Regions from separate parts of the Homo sapiens genome. Here regions 2 and 3 are each linked to region 1. The links are contacts of gene promoters, found by promoter capture Hi-C in blood cells and fetal thymus (Javierre and others, 2016). All regions are on one chromosome and are shown on one strand. The core of a region is centred on a gene start or on the middle of the fragment in contact, and the rest is flanking DNA. Distances in the headings are between cores, read along the strand shown. Region 1 holds the start of MOGAT1 (monoacylglycerol O-acyltransferase 1). Region 2 holds the start of AP1S3 (adaptor related protein complex 1 subunit sigma 3). Region 3 overlaps WDFY1 (WD repeat and FYVE domain containing 1).

Region 1 (4,290 bases), core at 1,362-3,861:
GCTAACACTAATGTCAAATGTGTGAAACAAAAACATTGAGGTGAATTGGATCTAGAACCACTGTAGTTTGATTCAAATTAGACACAGGTCATTGAGCATCTGCCATGTCCTCGTCACTAATCCACTCACATGCGGTCACATGTGTCTCGACTTTCCACTACTGGGCCATGTGATCTTGAGTAACTCACTTTATCTCCTAGTTCCTTCATTGGTAAAATGAGGGTAACGGGTAGTCCTCCCTCACCAGGTTGCTGTGAGGATTACATGAGTTAATACTCTAGGGATCTGGTGGGTGCATAATTCCTATTCTGGGTGATAGACCAGAAACAGCCATTCAACAAGTATTTGTGTATATCTCAAGTATTTGTGTATATCTCAAGTATTCGTGTATATCTTCCATGGGCCAGACATATACTGTGTGTTTCCTCACTAAGCTTGTAGACTAAGACAGCCATAGAGAACTTTCTGAAGTCACCACAGCCATACACAGATACAAGCAATGATAAGTGCCATGAAAGAAAAGAACAGTGGCTATCAGAGATGTGTTGAATGATCGGTTAGGAAGTCGGACTCCAAGTTCAGGCCATTTAAGAGAGCAGTTTAGTGGTTAAAGCAGACACTTTGGGCAGAATACTTGGGTTTGAAACCAGCTCTACCACGTCCTGCTAGCTGCATCGCCTTGAGCAATTTACTTCATCTCTTAGTTCCCTCATCTGTACCAGGAGTGTAGGAATAGTCCTTACCTCACAGGGATGTTGTGAAGATTGCTAGTTAATCGTGGATGTTGCTTAGAACAGCACCTGGCACATACCAAGCGCTAGATAAGGTCGTGTGTTGTTATCTCCATGGTGCTTTGATCCAGAGCAACCCTGCCTCACGGTGTAGTCTGTGAGGACTTAATGAGTTAACACTTTGAATTACATTTTTTTTTTTTTTTGGTAAATTCTACCTAGCAGCACAGGAGAGTCACTCGGAGAGTTCTTAAGAGGAAAAAGGAAAAAAAAAAAGGTGTACAGACTTCATTCTGAAACAAATGACTTAGAAATTCCAGGGATGAGCCGGGCGCGGTGGCTCACGCCTGTAATCCCAGCACTTTGGGAGGCTGAGACAGGCGGATCACCTGAGATTGGGAGTTCGAGACCACCCTGACCAACATGGAGAAACCCCGTCTCTACTAAAAAGACAAAATTAGCCAGATGTGGTGGCACATGCCTGTAACCCCAGCTACTCGGCAGGCTGAGGCAGAAGAATTACTTGAACCCGGGAGGCGGAGGTTGTGGTGAGCCGAGATGGCGCCACTGCACTCCAGCGTGGGCAACAAGAGTGAAACTCCGTCTCAAAGATAATAATAATAATAATAATAATAATAATAATAATAAACAAATTCCAGGATGGAGCCTGGGCATCTGCACTTTTTAGAAGCTTCTCCAGTGATTCTCATCTAGAGCCAGGGTTGAGAACCACTGATTCAGGCTTTCGAAATGTAAAAGCAGTTTTAAAAGTGTAAAACTCTCCAATGCAATGGGCTTATTACTATTATTACCACCCCAACGCTGTACAATCCATGATCTTACAGCATACACATGATCTTAGTCTTCAGAAGAGTTTATGTTTCAATAGAAGGGTCTCCCCCAAATTCCTCCCTCCTCCCACATCACCCCTATTTACTTCAAGAGCAGAACAAATATGAAGGAAAAAACAAAAAACAAAAAGAAAAACCACCCACGTTTTTGCCCCATCTAATGATTCGGCTCGTGTATGTTTCATGGGCTCAACTTGGGAACCAACTGGAACACACACGCTACTGAGTCAAACTATTTCCAGAGAGAAACCGCTCAACCAAATGCAATGAGTGGTGCAGCCTTCTTTACAGAAAGGTACTGCTATGCATCCAGGAAATCTCCAAAACGGGAAAGGGAACACTGCTCTTTGTCAGGAGGGTGGGGAGACAAAGAGGGAGAAGGAACAAGGTTTTAACTACTGAGGCATTACTTTGCCATCTATGAATCAACAGTTCGAGAAACGAGTTTGCCAACTTTTGAGGGGTTAAAGTGCTCATGCGTTCGATGGGGTCATGGTTACATTTTGGTAGATACAGTCGCCAAAAGTCATCGAGCTGTATCCGTATAACTGCGCCTTTTATTGTAGGCAAGGTGCACCTCAATTTAAAAAAGTAACGCAGGAGAAAATAAAATTAAACAGTCGTTAGCGATGAGGTTCTCGTGAGGAAACCAGAGTCCACGTTAGCTCCAAATGCCCTCTTTGACCTGCCTGCTCTGGCCGACAGGGGAACGAGGGTTGGAAGGTTCTATGCAGGTCCTGGAATCCGGACCGTCCCGAGGGAGGATATGGAGCCCAAGCCCCGCGGCCCGGGGGGCGGGGTCCTTACCGAGCAGCAGGTATTTCAGGACCCACTGCAGCACGGCCACCGTCTGCAGCCGCCGCGCCAGCTGGATGTTGAGCGGTGCAAACTCTACCTTCATGGCCTGGCCGGGCGAGGACGGCGCCAGCCACTGCAGCCTGCACCCACGCTGCTCTGCGGCGCCTGTGGGAAGTGCCCGGCCGGATCCGGGCCCCGCGCTGGGCACTGGCTGGGCGGAGAGGAAAAGGCAGAGGCTAGGCAGCGAGCGGGGACCCAACTGCGCCCTGGGTGGGAGGGCGCGCTGGGCTGAGGCTGGGGGCAGCCAATCACAAGCGCCGGGCGCCAGAGCTGGCCCAGCGCCCTGGCCCCGGAGCAGCTACAGCGGCCCGGGCGCATTGGCTGGCGCGCCGGGCGTTGGCGAGAGTGCGCCGCGTGGGACACGAGGGACGGGGAGAGGGGTCAACTGGCAGCCAGCCCGAGCCGGGCAGCGCGGGCTCCTGCCGCCTGGCTGAGGACCTGGGATCTCCACCAGGATCTGACCATTGTTCAGCTGATCGATCACCCAGCGCTTGCCTTCAGCATCCCACCCCTTCATTCGAACCCTCGGTGATTGGGGAAGGGTTAGTTTGAGGAATCGCACACCAGCTGGAGAGATGAGCGAGACTTGTTTCTTAGTTTATTGATCTGTGTCCCCCCGCAACCTCCAATTTCCCCGCGGATGGGGAAGGGGACCTGGCTTCCTCACTCTTGGGTCCTCAGTTCCCTACAGGAGCTCCGGGAATCTTTCACCCATTCATTCATTCAACCCACATTTATTGAGCACTTGCCACTTGCTGAGCACCATCCGGGCGCTTGGATAACCAAGCTGTCAAGCGCATCCGTGTGAAGAGACCACCAACAGGCATTGTGTGAGCAACAAGGCTGTTTATTCACTTAGGTGCAAGTCAGCTGAGTCCGAAAAAGAGTCAGCGAAGGGAGATGGGGAAGGGGTTGCTTTATAGGAGTTGTCTAGGTAATGGAAAATTACAGTAGAAGGTGGTTATCTATTGTTAGCAGAGGAAGGGGTCACAAGGTACAGGGTGGGGAGATCATAAGACTCATTGTCCAGAAGAAGAATGTCACAAAGTCGATTGATCGGCTAAGGTAGGGCAGGGACAAGTCACAATGGTAAAATGTTGTAATGTTGGTTAATCAGTTAAGGCAGGAACTGGCTGTTTTACTTCTTTGCGTTTTTTTTGGCTGCTCCAGGCTTCTTGGCTCCTGCAGGCCACCTGGATGTGTACATGCAGGTCACAGAGGTTATAATGGCTGAGCTTTGGCTCAGAGGCCTGACACAAGCTATTCATTGTCTTGTTCTCAGAGTACAGGGGGAAACAGACATAAGCAAAACAACTACACAATTTGGTGTATAATTACAAGTAAGACCCTACTGTGAATGACTAGAAGATTCCAAAACCAAGACTGCTGCACGGTCAGGGAAGTGTCTGAAGAAGTGCCCTTACTTGAGCTGTAGCCAAATCTAGTTAACCCAGGAGTCATCCGGGCAAAGGGAAGCACATATGCAAAGGTCCTGTGGCTGAACTCCAAGAAGAGCTCAAAGAGTGAGAGCTTGGGGGACAAGGGTGAGATTGGGGTGACATCAGGCAAAAATGGTGGGCAAGGTCCAGACCCTTGCAGACTGAGTTAGGGTTCAAGTTTGAACCCCAAGAGCAGTACAAGACACTGAAGGGTTTCAATTACGATGTGCTAAATGGATGGCTAGATTCTAAATAGTGCCTAGTCCTTGGGAGCAACCACTGCACTTTATTTATAAATATTAATTACCACATAGTTGAAAAACTCAAAATGATGAGCAGCTGTCAAGTCATTGCTGAAGAGGACTTGGAACAGGGCAAAACAATATAGTTGGCCCTCCTTTCTCCCCCATC
Region 2 (4,092 bases), core at 418-2,917, 1.2 Mb before region 1:
CTTGTTTATTATGTGTTGTCCCACAAGAGACGTAAGCTCCAGGAGACAGACCACCTGTTTGTTCCCAGCTGGGTCCCCCAGGCTCCTGTTGTAGGGCCTGGCCTAGAGTGATGAATATTTGCAGTGTGAATGCAGGGGTGGATGGAGTTTCCCATATTTTCAGTCACCTGGGTGGGCCTACATCCCTAGGAAGGTACACAACACATCCTGGGAAGGACTTTCACTGATTTGGGGTTCCAGGGACCACCCAGGAAATGACATTTTTTTTTTCAGACTGAGTCTCACTCTGTTACCTAGGCTGGATGATCTCAGCTCACTGCAACCTTTGTCTCCCGGGTTCAAGCGATTCTCTCCTGCCTCAGCCTCCCTAGTAGCTGGGACTACAGGCGTGTGCCACCACGCCCAGCTAAATTTTGTATTTTTAGTAGAGACGGCGTTTCACCATGTTGGCCAGGCTTGTCTCGAACTTCTGGTCTCAAGCGATCCGCCCACCTGGGCCTCCCAAAGTGTTGGGATTACAGGCATGAACCATCACGCCTGGCCCAGGAAATGATTCTTAACTTTTGCAGGGTCTAGGATCTCTTTAGCTATTTGATAAAACCAGTGGACTCCCTTTCTCAAAAACATGAATATGCATTAAAAACTCTGCTTACATCTAGTCTATCTGGTAAATATAATTAAAAGAAAAAAGAAAAAACTCTGTTTACAGCTTGGGGGTTTAGAGACTCTCAACGCCCTAGATTTAAGAAAAGTCAAGGGGAGGAGAGATTGGAGAACGAACTTTCTACACCACAACTTCTTAGGAGAGACTTCTTAAAAGGGGGTCGTGCTGCCGGGCGCAGTGGCTCATGCCTGTAATCCCAGCACTTTGGGAGGCCGAGGCGGGTGGATCACCCTGAACGCAGGAGGCGGAGGTTGCAGGGAGCCGAGATCGCCCCACTGCACTCCAGACGGGGCGACAGAGCGACACTCCGTCTCTAAATAAATAAATAAATAAATAAATAAATAAATAAATAAATAAATAAATGGGGGCCTGCTTAAAATGATCTTTGCCCTTAGACTGCAGAGCTTACTTTTTAAAAAGTGAAATGGGGGCAGAAGGGGATAAGAAAACGCTTCTAGTTCTTTCTCTTCCAACTGCTCCCTCCCTAGGAGGCTTAGGATAAGGCAGCCCCCGGCACTTTCTGCGAGTGTATCGGAAGTATCTTTGCCAGGTTTGATAAACGTTTGCGGAAGGAATACAGGACACACTCGCGCGGCAGAATCGCGAAAAGTCCCCGGTGTTCTCCGCGCAGGGAGTTCCCCGCGCAGGGAGTTCCTAGCGGGCCACGCGCTCTCGCCTGACCACCCGCGCCGAGCTGCGGGCTGTCGGGGTACAGACGCCCGCGCGCGCAGGTGCATTCGCTCCAGGTGCGGCCGGCTCGGGGCGGGAACAGCTGCAGCCGAGGCGGGGGCGGGGAGGGGGTACAGAGGAGAGGCAGAAAGGAGGGAAGAGGAGGAGGAGGAGGAGAAGGGAGGAGAAAGGGGAAAGGAAGAAAGAAGGAGAGCAGGAGGGCGAGGAGCGGGGGGAGCGGGGAGGAGGGCGCGGGGAGGAGGCAGCGGGGAGGAGCGTGCAGGGAGGAGGCAGCCGCGCTGGGAGGAGTCTGCACACTTTCAGTGCCAGGGCATTGTGGGAAGCAGCCATGGTCTAAGCCGGGCGCCTCACCTGTCAGCCGCACCGGCTCCAGCGCTCGCCTCTCGCCCTCGCTTCTCCAGCGCTCCTTGCTCGCAAGGCGGGGGAGGCGGCGGCCCAGCCACGATGGTGAGTGCGGGGGAACCGCCGGCCCGGGTAGGCGGTGGGGGCGCTCGCGCTCCGGGGAGGCACCTGGGGCGTCCGGGCCGGGCGCGCGGCCGGGTGGGGGTGCGGGCCGAGTCCCGCCTGGCCACCCGAACCGTGCGTCCCTGTGGCCCCGCTGCCCCAGACGGTGCGGACGCGCCAGGATCGCTTGCCCGGGATTCCTGCGGCAACGCGGCGCCGCGGCGCCGCGGCTCCATTCATTCATTCGATCCGCCTTAGCCGAGTGCTTAGTCTGTGCCGGGCTCGGTGCTGGGCGCTGGGGATGTCGCGGGGGACCAGGAGGAGCCCCTGTTCTCCAGGAAGCTTACCTTCCAGGAGGGGGATGCGGAGGGAGGGACACGTCCAATATACAAGTAAAATGAAGAGAACTTCTAAAGTAAGAAGCGCTGTAAAGTCTCAAATACAACCGGGTGGAGTGGCAACTTTTGATTTGGCAAAGCCTCTTCAAGGACATGACATTCTAGCTGCTGGAGGTCCTGGAGGGGCGCTACAGGTGGATTAGAGAGAGCAAAGCGGAGGGGAGAAGGCCTTGTTTGTGGCAGGAGAGGTGGGCTTCTGCCAGGTGAGGCGGGTTTTTATAGGCCAAAATAAGGAGTTTGGTTTTGGTTCCAACTGAGTAGGGGAAACCTCGGGGACGTTTTAGCAAGAAAACTGACCTTACCCGTTGTGCACTTTTGTTTTTTTGAGACTGATCTCGCTCTGTCGCCCAGGCTGAAGTGCAGTGGTGTGGTCTCGGCTCTGCCTCCCGGGTTCAAGCGATTCTCCTGCCTCAGCCTCCCGAGTAACGGGGATTACAGGCGTGTGCCACCACACCCAGCTAATTTTTGTATTTTTAGTAGAGACGGGGTTTCACCATGTTGGCCAGGCTGGTCTCGAACTCCTGACCTCAGGTGATCCGCCTGCCTCGGCCTCCCAAAGTGTAGGGATTACAGGGGTGAGCCACTGCACCCGGCATGGTGTGCAGTTTGGCTGTGGTTGGAGAATGGACTGGGGTGTGTAAGGGCAGGGGATAGGGGGTCAGGTTGGAAGCTGAGGCCGGCCGCAGCCCTGCTGATGAGAGATCTGGTGACCTGCACTTGGGTGGAAGCGATAGCTCAGGCTCCTCTTGCTCTTGCCTGCTGTTTAGGGGCAGCCTTTTAAGAGTGTGGTGGTCTGAACGTCACTAGTCCCACTTCCCCAAGTGTGTTACCACTTCCCAAATCCGCAGAAGGGAAGTGACCTGCACCCTGTGGGCCCACCGGAGGCAGGAGTGGGTGGGCCACGTGGGCTAAGAAAGTTGATCAACAAAGAGAGCCGGGGAGTGCTGAGCACCTGGCCAGCAAGACCGCAGTTGCTGGTTTCTGTTAAAGGTTTGGCTGCACACACTAGCGGCATCATTTTTGTCTGTTGAGGGTTCCTTGTAAATACAGCGTGATGCAAAAACAATGCTGTAAATAATGGAGCAGGTTTCTTGGCTTGCTCAAGTTTCCCAAGGAACAAGGTGACAGATGCCCAGTCCACCAGTGTAATTTGCCTAACAGAGGCTGGAATAAGGCCCTGCGTTTCTGAGTCATCAAAGGCTGCTTTTGTGCTGAGGAATGGGCCAAGGTTTGGTCTATAAGGAAAAGCTGCTCCTCTGGACAATACCTGTGGTGGAGTTTTATTTTTTCTTGCTGGTGTCATATGTGTGATGAGTTGATCAGAAATGTGGGAAGTTTCTCCAGCTTTTCTACCAGTTTTTGCTAAATGGGAAACATTATTATTATTTTTTTTTCTTCGAGACGGAATCTTGCTCTGTCACCCAGGCTGAAGTGCAGTGGCATGATCTTGGCTCACTGCAACCTCCATCTCCCGAGTTCAAGCAATTCTCCTGCCTCAGCCTCCTAAGTAGCTGGGATTACAGGCGCCCGCCACCACGCCTAGCTAATTTTTGTATTTTTAGTAGAGACGGGGTTTTGCCATGTTGGCCAGGCTGGTCTCAAACTCCTGACCTCGTGATCCACCTGCATCGGCCTCCCAAAGTGCTGGCATTACAGGCATGAGCCACCGCACCTGGCGGGGAAACATTAATGTTATTGGGCATTTGTGATAAGACAAGCAGGATGTCCTGCTCTTTATATTCACGATCTCATTCAATCCTTGCAACAAACAATTGAGGTTAAATCTGTTATGCTCATTGCATTTTAGCTACTCTGAGCTATTCTAGCAGTATGGCCTTGGACAATTCCTTGACCTCTCTGTCTCAGTTTGCCCATTTGAAAAATGGAGATAATATC
Region 3 (4,180 bases), core at 574-3,073, 1.3 Mb before region 1:
GGCAACCATGCACCAGGCAAGTCTATCTGTGCCATTTTTCCAATACATTGTGCTCACTTTGTGTCTCTGTGTCACATTTTGGTAATTCTTGCAATATTCCAAACTTTATTATTATATCTGTTGTGGTGGTCTGTGTTCAGTGATCTTTGATATTACTATTGTAATTGTTTTGGGGAGCCACAAACTGTGCCCACATAAGATGGCAAACTTAAATGATAGTGTGTGTGATCTGAATACTCCATCAACGGGCTGTTACCCTATGTCTGTCTGTCTCTCTCTCTCTCCCTCCCTCTTTCCCTGCCTCCCTCCTTTCCCCCTTTCCCCCCAGGCCTCCTTATTCCCTGAGACACAACAATATTGAAATTAGGCCAGTGAATAACCCTACAATAGCCTCTGAGTGTTCAAGTGAAAGGAAGAGTCACATATCTCTAACTTTAAATCAAACGTTAGAAATGATTAAGCTTAGTGAGGAAGGCACATCAAAAGCTGAGACAGGCCGAAAGCTAGGCCTTTTGCACCAAACAGCCAAGTTATGGATGCAAATGAAAAGTTCTTGAAGGAAATTAAAAGTGCTAATCTAGTGAAAACATGAATAAGAAAGCAAAACAGCCTTATTGATGATACGGAGAAAGGTTTAGTGATCTGAATAGAAGATCAGACCAGCCACAACATTCTCTTAAGCCAAAGCCTCATCCAGAGCAAGGCCTTAATCCTCTTCGATTTTATGAAGCCTGAGAGGGGTGAGGAAGCTACAGAAGAAAAGTTTGAAGCTAGCAGAATTGGCACATTAGGTTTAAGGAAAGAAGCAGTCTACATAACATAAAAGTGCAAAGTGAAGCATCAAGTGCTAATGTAGAAGCTGCAGCAAGTTATCCAGAAGATCTAGTGAAGATAATTGGCAAAAGCAATTACATTAAACAATAGATTTTCAATGCAGACCAAACAATTCTTTTGGAAGAAGATGCCATCTAGGACTTTCATAGCTAGTAGAGAAGTCAGTGCCTGGCTTCAAAGCTCCAAAAGATAGGTTGACTTTCTTCTGTGGCTAATGCAGCTGGTAACTTTAAGTTGAAGTCATTGCTCATTAACCATTCCAAAAATCCTAAGACCATTAAGAATTATGTTAAGTCTACTTTGCCATGTGCTCTATAAATGGAACAACAAAGCCTGGATGACAACATGTGTGTTGACAGCATGGTTTACTGAATATTTTAGGCCCATTGTTGAGACCTACTGCTCAGAAAAAAAGATTCCTTTCAAAATATTATTGCTTGTTGGCCGGAAACGGTGGCTGACACCTGTAATACCAGCACTTTGGGAGGCCGAAGCAGACAGATCACTTGAGGTCAGGAGTTCGACACCAGCCTGGCCAACATGGCAAAATCCCGGCTCTACTAAAAATACAAAAATTAGCCAGGCACAGTTTTGCACATCTGTAAGTCCAGCTGCTCAGGAGGCTGAAGCATGAGAATCGCTTGAGCCTAGGAGGCAGAGGTTTCAGTGAGCTGAGATTGTGCCACTGCACTCCAGCCTGGGTGATGGAGTGAGACTCTGTTTCAAAAATACACATACACACACACACACACACACACGCACATATTTGTATATATATGAAATACACACACATATATATGTAAATGTATGTATATTTGCTTATTGAAAATGCACCTAGTCACCCAAGAACTCTGAGGATGGAGACATACCATGAGATTAATGTTGTTTTTCATGCCTGCTAATACAACACTCATTCTGTAGCTCATGGATCAAGGAGTAATTTCAACTTTCAAGTTTTGTGATTTAAAAAATACACTTTTGCTGGGCATACTGGCTCATGCTTGTAGTCTCAGCACTTTGGGAGGCTGAGGTGGCAGGATCACTTGAGTGACCAGCCTGGGCAGTAGAATGAGACTTTATAAAAGCCTTAAAAAAGTTAGCCAGGTGTCGTGGTGTGTGCCTGTAGTCCCAGTTACTGGGGAACCTGAGGTGGGAGGATCCCTGGAGCCTGGGAAGCATAGGTTGCAGTGAGCCTTGATTGTGCTACTGCACTCCAGCCTGAGTAACCGAGGGAGACCCTGTCTCAAAAGAAAATTTTTTTATAAGGCTATAACTGCCGTAGATAGTGCCTCTGATAGATCTGGGCAAAGTAAGTTGAAAACCTTCTGGAAAGGATTCACCATTCTAGATGTCATTGAGAACATTCATGATTCTTGAGAGAAGGTTAAACTGTCAGTATTAATAGGAATTTGGAAGAAGTTGATTCCAGCCCTCATGGATAACTTTGAGGGGTTCAAGCCTTCAGTAACTGCAGATGTGGAAATAGCAAGAGAATTAGAATTAGAAGTGGAACATATAGATGTGACTGAATTGTTGTAATCTCATGATAAAAGCTGAATGTTTAAAGAGTTTCATATGGATGAGCAAAGAAAGTGGTTTCTTGAGATGGAATCAACATCTAATGAAGATGCGGTGAACATTGTTGAAATGGCAGCAAAAGATTTAGAATATTCCATAAACTTAGGTGATGGAGGAGCAGCAGGCATTAAGAAGATTGACTCCACTTTTGAAAGAAGTTCTATTATGGGTAAAATGCTATTAAATTGCATTGCATGCTACAGAGAAGTCTTTTGGGAAAGGAAGAGTCAATCGATGCAACAAACTTCTTGGTTGTCTTATTTTAAGAAGTTGCCACAGCCACGCCAACCTTCATCAACAACCATCCTGATGGATCAGCAGCATCAACATTGAGGCAGGACCCTCCACCAGCAAAATGATTACCCCTCGCTGAAGGTTCAGATGATCGTTAACTTTTTTTTAGCAATAAAGTATTTTAAAACTAAGGTATGTACATTGATTTTTAGATGTAATGCTACTGCACACTTAACAGACTATAGTGTAACTACAGCTTGCATATGGGAAACCAAAAATTTGTGTGACTCACTTTGTTGCGACATTTGCTTTATTGTGATAAACCTGCAATATCTCTGAGGGTTATAATAATCTCTGTGTTATGCTTTTTTTTTTTTTTTTTAGGAACAAAAAAGCTGACCATTTCATAAACATTTTATTGGGGCTCCAGGACTTCATAACTATTTGTAATGATTATATAAGCTATTGAATTACTCTATCATTAACCCATTTCATTCTTTAACATATTTTCCCCATTTTTACTCCTTGGATAAAGCTTATATGAAGTTTTTTAAATTTGTAGTTCCTTTTTTATTCTATTAAATGATTTCTATAGAACCAATTTCCAAGCCTGGAATTCCTTAATCAAAGTTTATCATTAGTGTTGTTGTCATTATTATTGGGCAGGTGTATTTGTTTCTCTCTATATTGGAGCAAAATTCTTGCCAAATAGTTCTAATTTACAATTCTGACAAAGAAGTATGAGAGCCCTAGAAGTGGCATTTTGTTATTGTTTTGAGTTGTTCCTTTGCTTTCCCTGCACAGCAGTACATTTTAAAAACATTTTAATCTGAAACATTTAGCATAAAAAAGAATCAATTTTGGAATTTTATTTACTTGGAAAATAAATGAATCATCTACAGTGCTGAACAATGATAAACAAATAAAGTCATGGGGCCAGGTGCGGTGGCTCACACCTGTAATCCCAGCACTTTGGGAGGCCGAGGCGGGCAGATCACTTGAGGCCAGGAGTCCAAGACCAGCCTGGCCAACATGGTGAAACCCTGTCTGTACTAAAAATACAAAAATTAGCCAGGCATGGTGACACATGCCTGTAATCTCAGCTGCTGGGGAGGCTGAGGCATGAGAATCGCTTGAACCCAGGAGGCAGAGGTTACAGTGAGCTGAACTTGTGCCATACCGCTCCAGCCTGGGTGATGGAGTGAGACTCTGTTTAATAAATAAATAAAGTGATGGTAGTGGCGTGCATACCCTGTAAGTTATATATGTATAACATAGTCATATATGGAGATACCTTTTCTCATCTGTTCCTGGAAGATATTGCAGCTATATGCAAGTCCTTGCTTCTCTAAAAGTGCAGAGGAGATAGATGGTAGAAGCCCTCCACAGGAATGGTAGCATGGAGAAGTTTGGAAAAGATTTATTAGGCTCTGAAAGCAATGACACATTTCCTTTCTAAGGATCTTTTGGAAAAATATCAGACTATTGTTTTAAAACAACTTAAAAATAGAGCTTGGAAAAGAATGAACACGTT

What was found. Contacts are between HindIII fragments. The CHiCAGO score rates a contact against its expected background, and 5 or more counts as called.
Region 2: a contact is called between the fragment with the promoter of AP1S3 here and the fragment with the promoter of MOGAT1 in region 1, in 1 of 17 cell types (M0 macrophages). The highest score is 9.3, in M0 macrophages.
Region 3: a fragment that was not itself captured here is called in contact with the fragment with the promoter of MOGAT1 in region 1 in 2 of 17 cell types (M0 macrophages and M1 macrophages); the score reaches 5.2 in M0 macrophages.

What each region holds. Positions count from the first base shown.
Region 1 is chr2:222,669,979-222,674,268 of GRCh38, reverse strand. It overlaps MOGAT1 (monoacylglycerol O-acyltransferase 1), which reads right to left and starts at 2,611. Exons shown (of 6, transcript NM_058165.3): 1 at 2,390-2,611. The coding sequence starts at 2,483. It overlaps LOC124907985 (a long non-coding RNA gene), which reads right to left. Exons shown (of 2, transcript XR_007088095.1): 2 at 3,267-3,633. The HindIII fragment of the contact is 3,409 bases long and covers 1,425-4,290 here.
Region 2 is chr2:223,835,157-223,839,248 of GRCh38, reverse strand. AP1S3 (adaptor related protein complex 1 subunit sigma 3) reads left to right here and starts at 1,667. Exons shown (of 5, transcript NM_001039569.2): 1 at 1,667-1,801. The coding sequence starts at 1,799. RefSeq lists enhancers at 1,121-1,300, 2,171-2,260 and silencers at 1,471-1,600, 1,631-2,060. The HindIII fragment of the contact is 4,145 bases long and covers 1-2,142 here.
Region 3 is chr2:223,924,064-223,928,243 of GRCh38, reverse strand. All of the region lies in intron 1 of WDFY1 (WD repeat and FYVE domain containing 1), which reads left to right. Among named protein-coding and RNA genes, the nearest start is that of WDFY1, 19 kb to the left of the region's middle. The HindIII fragment of the contact is 2,720 bases long and covers 464-3,183 here.